3 separate regions of the Homo sapiens genome follow, and regions 1 and 3 are each linked to region 2. The links are contacts of gene promoters, found by promoter capture Hi-C in human tissues and cell types (Jung and others, 2019). All regions are on one chromosome and are shown on one strand. Each heading gives the region's core, a stretch centred on a gene start or on the middle of the fragment in contact. The rest is flanking DNA. Distances are from core to core; before and after follow the strand shown. Region 1 overlaps FBXW4 (F-box and WD repeat domain containing 4). Region 2 holds the start of NPM3 (nucleophosmin/nucleoplasmin 3). Region 3 overlaps FBXW4 (F-box and WD repeat domain containing 4).

Evidence for each region. The method cuts DNA at HindIII sites, captures the fragments that hold promoters and counts their contacts. A contact is called where the count stands out against the background at its distance.
Region 1: a fragment that was not itself captured here is called in contact with the fragment with the promoter of NPM3 in region 2 in 3 of the 25 tissues and cell types used here (H1 embryonic stem cells, lymphoblastoid cells and neural progenitor cells).
Region 3: a fragment that was not itself captured here is called in contact with the fragment with the promoter of NPM3 in region 2 in 3 of the 25 tissues and cell types used here (mesenchymal stem cells, mesendoderm cells and thymus).

What each region holds. Positions count from the first base shown.
Region 1 is chr10:101,619,556-101,622,584 of GRCh38, forward strand. The region is part of intron 6 of FBXW4 (F-box and WD repeat domain containing 4); the gene reads right to left. Among named protein-coding and RNA genes, the nearest start is that of MIR3158-2, 20 kb to the left of the region's middle. RefSeq lists an enhancer at 1-386. The HindIII fragment of the contact is 4,149 bases long and covers 1-3,029 here.
Region 2 is chr10:101,781,751-101,784,710 of GRCh38, forward strand. It overlaps NPM3 (nucleophosmin/nucleoplasmin 3), which reads right to left and starts at 1,696. Exons shown (of 6, transcript NM_006993.3): 1 at 1,523-1,696; 2 at 1,089-1,174; 3 at 728-847; 4 at 508-601; 5 at 1-104. The coding sequence starts at 1,640. OGA (O-GlcNAcase) reads right to left here. Exons shown (of 16, transcript NM_012215.5): 16 at 2,700-2,960. RefSeq lists an enhancer at 624-1,263. The HindIII fragment of the contact is 4,177 bases long and covers 1-2,733 here.
Region 3 is chr10:101,638,417-101,641,230 of GRCh38, forward strand. The region is part of intron 5 of FBXW4 (F-box and WD repeat domain containing 4); the gene reads right to left. Among named protein-coding and RNA genes, the nearest start is that of MIR3158-2, 38 kb to the left of the region's middle. The HindIII fragment of the contact is 6,712 bases long and covers 1-2,814 here.

The DNA.
Region 1 (3,029 bases), core at 238-2,737, 160 kb before region 2:
GGCTGAGGCAGGAGGATGGCGTGAACCCGGGAGGCGGAGTTTGCAGTGAGCCGAGATAGCACCACTGTACTCCACCCTGGGTAATAGAGCAAGACTCTGTCTCAAAAAAAAAAAAAAAGAAGAGGAAGGGGGAAGGGGACAGCCAAGCTCCTTGCCATTTAGGCAACGGCTGTGTGCCTGTGGCTGCCTTCTGACCTGTGTGCTCCAGCTAGCAACTGCCCCTCCATCCCTGTTCCAGCCCAGCCTGCAAGGAGAACAGTCTCTAGTGGTCTTGATGGAATGAGGGGCTGAGGGAACAATGGTGACCCTGAAAGGGGTCCAGGTTCTGTGAGAAGCAGCATTGGCTGTCTGAGGGTGAGTAGCTGAGAGACACACATAGACGTGGGTGATGGCTCCCCTGATGGGAGCGCTGGTGCCCAGTGGGTGGCTACAGCTTTGAATGTGTCCCAGCCCCCACCATCATCCAGGGTATAGCAATGCTTAGGGCAAACTGCCCCTCCAGTACTCCCCGCTCTCTGCCCAAGCCCCAGCACATACATAAAAGAGAAAATCCAGGCGCTCCTCAAGTTGCAGCAGTGACAGGTTAAAAGCAAAGAATCCATCCAGCACCGCTCACCGCCCAACCCCAAGTCCTGCCGGCAATGCTGCTCCACCTCTCGGATTGGCCTGTCAGTCAGGCTTTGGTGTTACTGAAAGATCAAACTTTGTCCTGCCTGTTCATTACCTTAATCCTATTTTCTACATGGCTTTATTATCTACTTGGGCTTCTCTGGGAAAGACAGCTCTAGAGAGTCATCCTGTCCATCCATTTCCTCCCACCAAAAGCAAATGCCTCCACCAGGGCATCTTTCCTCAATCGCTGTACCACTTGGTCCTCCAAGCTTCTCTGGGGACAGGACAGATGTTTAAACAAAGCCTGGTTCCTCCCAGTGGATGAACCTGGGGCTGGAGAGAAGGCACTGCCAAGTGGTGCCCAGGGCAACCCTGCCACAAGCAGCAGAGCCCACAGGCTGGCCAGAGCGGGCAGGGCTGTTTCTTCTCAGGCTCCAGGAAGAACTGAGGCCATAGTTGTTTGTTTTGTTCTGTTTTTAATTTTTTTTTGATAAGAAACAAGGTCTCACCATATTGCCCAGGCTACTCTCAAACTCCTGAGCTCAAGCGATCCTACTGCCTCAGTCTCTCAAAGTGCTCGGATTCCAGGCATGAGCCACCATGCCTGGCTAATCACTGTCTCATACCTATTCTCATTAGAGTCCATTCTGGTTTCAATAAAGACCCAGTGTTTGGGGTTAATGAGATCTAGGGGTTTCATAAGAGAATAACAGTCAAATAAATGGTGCCTTAGAACTCCATCCTGACCATAAATCTGTACCGAAGAGTACCCTTCACCAAGGCAACCATAGGCAGAAGAGGCCATTCAAAGATTACCCAACATTTGAGATGATGCTGGGTCACAGTGGTGTACCCAGCCCGCCACCCGGCTTGTGTGTCATCCTGGGCCCAGGCAGGTGATGATGCCAAACACAAGGCCCAGCTATGTAACCAAGTAAAAACTTTCATCAGAATGCCCATCTTTGTGACCCACAGCCCATTGTCAAGAGCCTTCCCTGTGCCAGGAGTTCAGCAGGTTCACCTCCGCCTCCACTAGTCACTAAGACACGGATATTTTAAGAATTAAAAGCCTCCACAAGCCAGGCACAATGGCTTACACCTATAATCCCACAACTTTGGGAGGCCAAGGTGGGAGGATCACTTGAGCCAACGAGTTCGAGACCAGCCTGGGCAACATAGCGAGACCTTGTCTCTACAAAAAAATTTAAAAGTTAGCCAAGCATGGTGGGGCATGTCTATAGTCCTAACTACTTGGGAGGCTGAGGCAGAAGGACCATTTGAGCCCAGGAGTTCAAGGCTGCGGTGAGCCGTGATGATGCCACTGCACTCCAGCCTGGGTGACAGAGCAAGTCCCTGTCTCTCAAGAAAAAAAGAAGCTTCCACAAACTCCGAGGTACTAGTTTGGGTGGGAAGGAAGAGCAGGAAAGAGACAGCTTGCATTAGTTGAATGCCTCCAAGGTGACAGGCACTGTATGGGAAACTCTTTCACGATAATTTTGTTCATACCAGTTCTGTTAGGTAGGGATAATTAATTTCCACTTTACAAATGAGGAAACTGAAGCTCAGAGGGCCCCAGATCACAGCAAGAGGCACAGATAAGTTATGGCTAACTTATCTACTATGTTAATGAGAAACAACTGAAGGACCTAGAACTTTTGGCCTGAAGAAGAGGAGGCCCTGGAAGAGCAGAACCAAGGTTTTCAGATATTTAAAAGTCTGTTCTTCAGGAGAGAGGTTCAACTTGCTTGTCTCTTGTCTAGGATCACAGCTTCAGGGAGCAAATCAATCCATGATAAAGGGTGGGCATTCTCACTCACAGAGCTACCAAAAGACGGAATGGTTGTTTGGGGAAGTAGGGAGTTTCCCATCCCTGTTCTTGGATGACTATCAAAAGAGAATGTTGAAGGAAAAAAACCATGATTCATTGATTAAAACATCTCATGTTGTTTTAAAAATTTTGAAAAGACTGACTATAGAATGGATTTTTCAAAAAAAAAAAAAAAAGCTATGGCTAATGCTTTCCTACAGAGATGGAGAAAAATGGAGAAGACAAAGCTACAGCAACTGAGGAAGCAGGTGAGAAGAGCATCTTCGCCAGTGCTGTCAAATGTGGCATTTAAGACACAGACCACATGTGGGGCCTAGGGCAAGGTGAAGAGTTCTTAGACTTGACACCAAAGGCACAGTCAATAAAAGAAAAAGTCAATAATTTAGATTCCATCAAAATTTTAAACATTTGCTCTTCAAAAGACCCTGTTAAGAGGATAAAAAGACAAGCAGCCGGGTGCGGTGGCTCACGCCTGTAATCCCAGCACTTTGGGAGGCCGAGGCAGGCTGATCACGAGGTCAGGAGATCGAGACCATCCTGGCTAACACAGTGAAATCCTGTCTCTACTAAAAGATACAAAAAATTAGCC
Region 2 (2,960 bases), core at 446-2,945:
CTGCTTTTTGGCAGGAAGGATGGGGCACAGCTCAACTTCTTCCTCATCACTGTCCTCTTCCTCTTCCTCGCTCTCCTCCTCAGAAACATCATTGCTCATCGTAACTGGTGGACACACAAGCAGTAGAAGGATGGGGTGTTAAGACCAGACCGTTTCACACCGCATGCCATTTCTTCACGCCGTGGTGTTAGGCTTACAGGGACCATGACCTCCCAGTGCTTATGGGCTAGGTGGGAAGAACCTCAGACCCTAAACTGGGTCACAAAGAGCCAAAGGAGTCTTCATTATTGGAGCTGGAGAAGTTGGGCCATGTTCCATGGAGGAGGTAGGCTTGAGTAGACGGAAAGGAGAGGGCATGTCATGCACAGGGCACAGCGTGGAGGGCACACAGACCTGTACAGGGCTGCACTGGGAGATGAGGGTGGGATGGGGCAGGAGTGCGGAGTGGGGGAAGCCTGATGGGAGAGTCCACTGGAAGCAAAGGAGAGGGCCCTCCCCTCTTCTCACCAATCTGGTGCCGCCCAGTGATCCGCACAGGGCCAGAGCCCGACTTCAGGCGGAAGGTTACAGGTGGTTGGAGCTGGAAGTCATCCAGACTGAGCTGGGAGGAAGACAAGGATGAAGGCCTGGCCCACTCCTAGCCCACCCCACACTGTAATGAGTGCTAACGTCCTCAATCCCCTCACCACCACCACCACCACCACCAAGGCAGAGCTGGGGAACTCACCATGGGTTGGCAGGACAGCTTGAGGTTGGCCACAGGGACTGCGATCTCCTGATGGTCATGGTTCCGGGCCACAACTTCTACCACATTACACTCGTCTTTGGCTCCCTCGGTGAGGCAGAGCTGGGAACGGTACACAGGGCCTCAGGGTCTCCTCAAGTGAGGGTTGACACCACAACTAAAGGCATCTACCCTAGCACCTGCCCAGCCTCAGAGGTCCCGGTTCACCTGGCCAGGGGAGCCGCCCATGCCGGGGGGTTAGGCTGAGGATGTGTCTCCAAGTAAAGGGGATCCGGAGGTTGGGTAGAGACCTATATTGCCTGCCTGGGCTTATTCATTAAAACCCCACTCCCCTGCCCCTCACCATGGTTAGTGCCAGCACGTGCTCCGCATCATCCTCTTCCTCTACCTTAAAGGTGAAGGAGCGGGTGTGGCCGGAGAGCTCACAGCCTGGTAGAAATAACAGTGAGTATGCCTGAGCGTGTGTACGGGGCTGGGCAGCGGGGGATGTCACCAACCCGCCGTCACGTGTAACCTTGGGCGGACGGGTCATTTACACGTCCACCTCCGTCTCTTCTCTCAGAACACCTGGGACGCTCTGCCGTGGGCCCCGCCCAACACATCTGGGGCAGGGATCTCGCCACCCCCTTTGGCTGTGCGTGCGAGGCCCCCTCTCCTGCGGGAACAGCGAAGCAGCCCTCCGCCCACACCCACGCCTTGAAACCCTCCGCATTCCCGCCTCACATCCCTACCTCTTACCGCCCCAGTACCACCCTCAGCCTCTCCCTTCACTAATACCGAAGAAAAAACTGTCCATAGTGACCGGGGCCGGGACCCGTAGGCCCCCGACACCCCCGGCCCGCGTTCGGCTCTCCTGACTCAAAAACGCTAAGGCAGCTGCAGTACCGGCGGCCATGCTGTAAGAGCCTTCTTCAAACTCCGCCCCCGACACGCACAAAGCCGGGGACCCTCGGCCAGTTCCGGCCCCGCCCATTAAAGGAGACGCACAGTCCTGGAAAAGAAAAGGCGCCGAGACCCCGCAGCCCTACCCGGAGCCCGCAGCTTCTGCTCATATTTTATCAAGACCGAAGAGAAAGGAAGTAACATCACAGAAGAATGGATTTGGGGTTTATGTTAACATCCTTGCTCATTTCCACGACCATGAGGGTGTCCACTTCCCCAAGCTCCTCGCTCTGTGTCGGAAGAGTGTCTCCCACTCTTCCAACCCAGGGTAAGCTTTCGTTAAAGGAGTTATAGATATAAAAATGTAAACCCTTCTTACTCCTCCCAGCAAAGGTGGGGTTCAGGGCAGTGCTTTTCTGCTACAAGCAAAGGAAATGCACTCAGATTGTCTTTGCCTCAAGAGAGCCGAGGAGCCTTAGGAATTTCCATCCCAACACGTCTGTCCTGTCTGTCCTCTCGGCTAAGCCTCTCTTAATTCTTCCTGCTCTAAAGACCCCGCAACTTGCTATGCCTTCACTGAGACTTAGCTGCTGGCACTTGCTAGCAGAGGACTAGTTAGCTCATGTGTGTTGGCTGTTCCTGGCCCACCCACGCTTTTTGAGCTTTTAATTCCAAATCATCCAGGAGTATCTTTGCGCCGTGGATTATTTTGTCAGTTTATGCTACTCGCGCCATCTTTCGCCTTTTAAGAATCAGGCAAACTGTGTGCTTTCTATCCTAATAGATGGCAAAACTCAAACTAGAGGCCCTATTTCACATCCAGGTTATAACTGTGGCAAGAGGGTGGGGTGGCTTGGCTAAAAACTAGTCTACTTTTCTTAGCTCTTGTCTTAATGAAAATCTGGAAGTCTTACTGGTGATGGAGGTAGGGGAGGGCTGCCTTCAAGATCCAATCTCTAACTTGGAACAGCTGTGGAGAGGAGAGAATACCTGCTTGTAGGTGAGGCATGAAAGAGGAGAAAAGGGAGGGGGCAGACAGGAAATAGATTCACACAATACAACACGACAAGCATTCACTTCAAGTTTTATTTTGCCTCTTGCATGGTCTTTTACAGTTCGTTTTCTACAGGAACTGAGCTCTGATCCAAACAATCAATAAAAATGTAATTCCAACCTTAATATTCATAACCAGGAAATAGCATAGCACTTCATGATCCTAGAGTGATGAAAGCAAGACCAGGGCATCTGTTTCACAGTCACCTGTGACCAGACCAGCCAACATGATTACTAAAAGCCAAGATAAAACCAAAAGCAAACTTGCTAAAAAATCCTG
Region 3 (2,814 bases), core at 186-2,685, 140 kb before region 2:
GATGAAACTATATGATATCTGCTATTTGCTTCAAATGAAAAGATCTGGAATGACACATACTGGATGTCCTGCAAAAAAAAAAAAAAAAGAGTAGGATAACGGGAGGGGACACAGGTCACTGAAGGAGATTTTTCCTTTCTATTCTATATATTTTAAATTGTTTGAATTTTTACAATTAGAACATATTTATGTATCACTTATGTATAAAACAACAAAACAGAAATTAAGAAATTAAAAGAATGGTAATCAAAATACTCATTTTGAAGTTACCTGAAAGATGTGTTGCATATTAGTAGCACACTGAATTAAATGTGATTCTGATTATTGCACAAACCACATGATATCTTGGCTCCATCCGGGACTTGACAGAGACCCTTTACCTCGATGGCTTTCTGAGTGGTGAAAGCCTGGGAACAGCTGCCTATGAGAATTCCAGTTTTCCGGCAGCTCTGACAGTGCTTTCCCCCAAACTTCTGCTTCATAACCACTCTGTTTGTAAAGAGATGCTATGCGTCATGAATTATACACAGTAGGACTACAGAAGTAGGATCCATGACAATAAGAGCTACTGTATCTATGTACACAATAGGTAAAGCCTATCCCTCACAAGAAAGGAGTGCTCCATTTGTAGAGGAGTGCCAGCAGCAAGCCCTGGTGCACGTGTCAACTCCCTGCAGTTTAATCCCAAATCATGCAGCTTGCTAATCATTTTCCTTTGGAGGAAGCCTGGGCAGGCCAGACCTGTGCCATCCCAGGACTTGGTTCCAGTCTCTCTCTGCCCCTCAGGGAGGGTGCTAGGCCACTGCTCATTCATACAACCTCAGGTGTCTGCAACCAGGTTCTTTCTCTGTGCATGTCACATTAGAATATGGCGGGTTTTGCTAAGGACACCATCAACAGCTTACAAAGGAGGAATCCTTATTTGCTGACTAGTAATAATGTGAGGGGGAGGAGGTCAAAGGCTGTACAACAGTTCCTATCAGACTCTTCACTTTGTTTAAGAGTTGGTAGCCAAGGTCTCTGAGCTCAGTCACCATTCACATAGACACTTTGGGACTGGACATCATGGAGTCATTTGGCCTTTATCCAACTAGTAGACACCTATTGTTCTGTGTGCCCACATTCTCCCTCCATATATGTGATTCCTGAGAGATCCACCATGTTCTTACATGACTTTCCCTCCCTGGCCACAGTTAATTAATCAAGAGATGCGCAGCTGACCCAAAACTGGCCTGGGATTTTTGGAAGCCAGTCACTCTCTCTGATTTAAGCCATGAGCTGCCAAACTCAGGAGCACTTGGCAGCCTCATGGAATAAGCTGGTCAGCTTGGAGAAAGGAAGGAGCTAAGAACCATAAAGAAAGAGATGAGCACCCCAGAAGGATAAAGCCATGGCAGCACTATGGCCTCTGGTTCAGCTAGTCCCAAGGGTGTATTTCAGTTCTGCCTTTGGCTTGGTTTTTCACCTTTTCCCTTGGATTTCATGAGCCAAATATTCTGTTTTATTTATGTGAATTTGAATTTGGTTTCTGTCACTTACAATAAATGTGTCCTGAGTAATATAGAGCCTCTGTTCAGTAACTGCTCGGCTTCTCACCCAACTGAATGTCCTCACTGAGAGATGAGCAAAGGGCTTTGCCAGGCCTCTACTGGACACCTTGGGGCCTAAGAAGATACTTCAACCACAAAATTAATACCTGGTAGGTCTTCTAGGAGAGCAGATGAAACAGAACCACACAGGCTGGCCTGGAACTTCAGAAAGGAGATGAGGTGTTCTCTTATACCAATGCCTAAGAACAGTGCCAGGAAAAATCTACCTGCCCACTCCCAGTAGGGGGTGAGGAGATGGTCTGGACAACAGAAAATAACAAGGATGCTGCTTGAGGGATGGGAGTCTAGTCTTCAAGGGACAAGGCCCTGATCTTCAGAGATTTGGTCCCTTGAATCCCTTTTTATGGACTGATGAGACTGAATGTTCTACTGGAAACCACATGACTCATTCTAATGGGGCAGAGTTTGGTTTACTCTCAAACCCTTCCATTTTCTTTTCTTTTCTTTCTTTCTTTCTCTTTTTTTTTTTTTTTTTTTTTTTGAGAGAGAGAGTCTCACTCTGTTGCCCAGGCTGGAGTGCAGTGGCATGATCTTGGCTCACTGCAACCTCTGCTTCCTGGGTTCAAGCGATTCTTGTGTCTTAGCCTCCCAAATAGATGGGATTACAGGCATGTGCTACCATCCCCAGCTAATTTTTTTTTTTTTTTTTAAGTAGAGATTGGGTTTTGCTGTATTGGTCTCAAATGGTCTCAAACTCCTGGCTGGTCTCACGCTCCTGGCCTCAAGTGATCCACCTGCCTCGGCCTCCCAAAGTGTTGGGATTACAGGTATGAGCCACCCTGCCCAACCTAGACTCTTCCTTCCCCCACCCCCGCCTTTTTTGAGACCAAGTCTCACTCTGTCGCTCAGGCTGGAGTACAATGGTGTGATCTTGGCTCACTGCAACCTCCACCTCCCAGGTTCAAGCAATTCTTCTGCCTCAGCCTCCCGAGTAGCTGGGATTACTGGCACCCGCCACCACACCCAGCTAATTTTTGTATTTTTAGTAGAGATGGGGTTTCACCATGTTGGCCAGGCTGGTGTCGAACTCCTGACCTCAGGTGATCCACCCACCTCGGCCTCCCAAAGTGCTGGGATTACAGGCATGAGCCACCGCGCCCAGCCAACCCTTCCATTTTCAACAACCATAATGCCAGGCATTTAAGAGATAGATAATTTAAATATATTTTCCACGTATTCATCTAATTTTAATTAAAAGCATGCA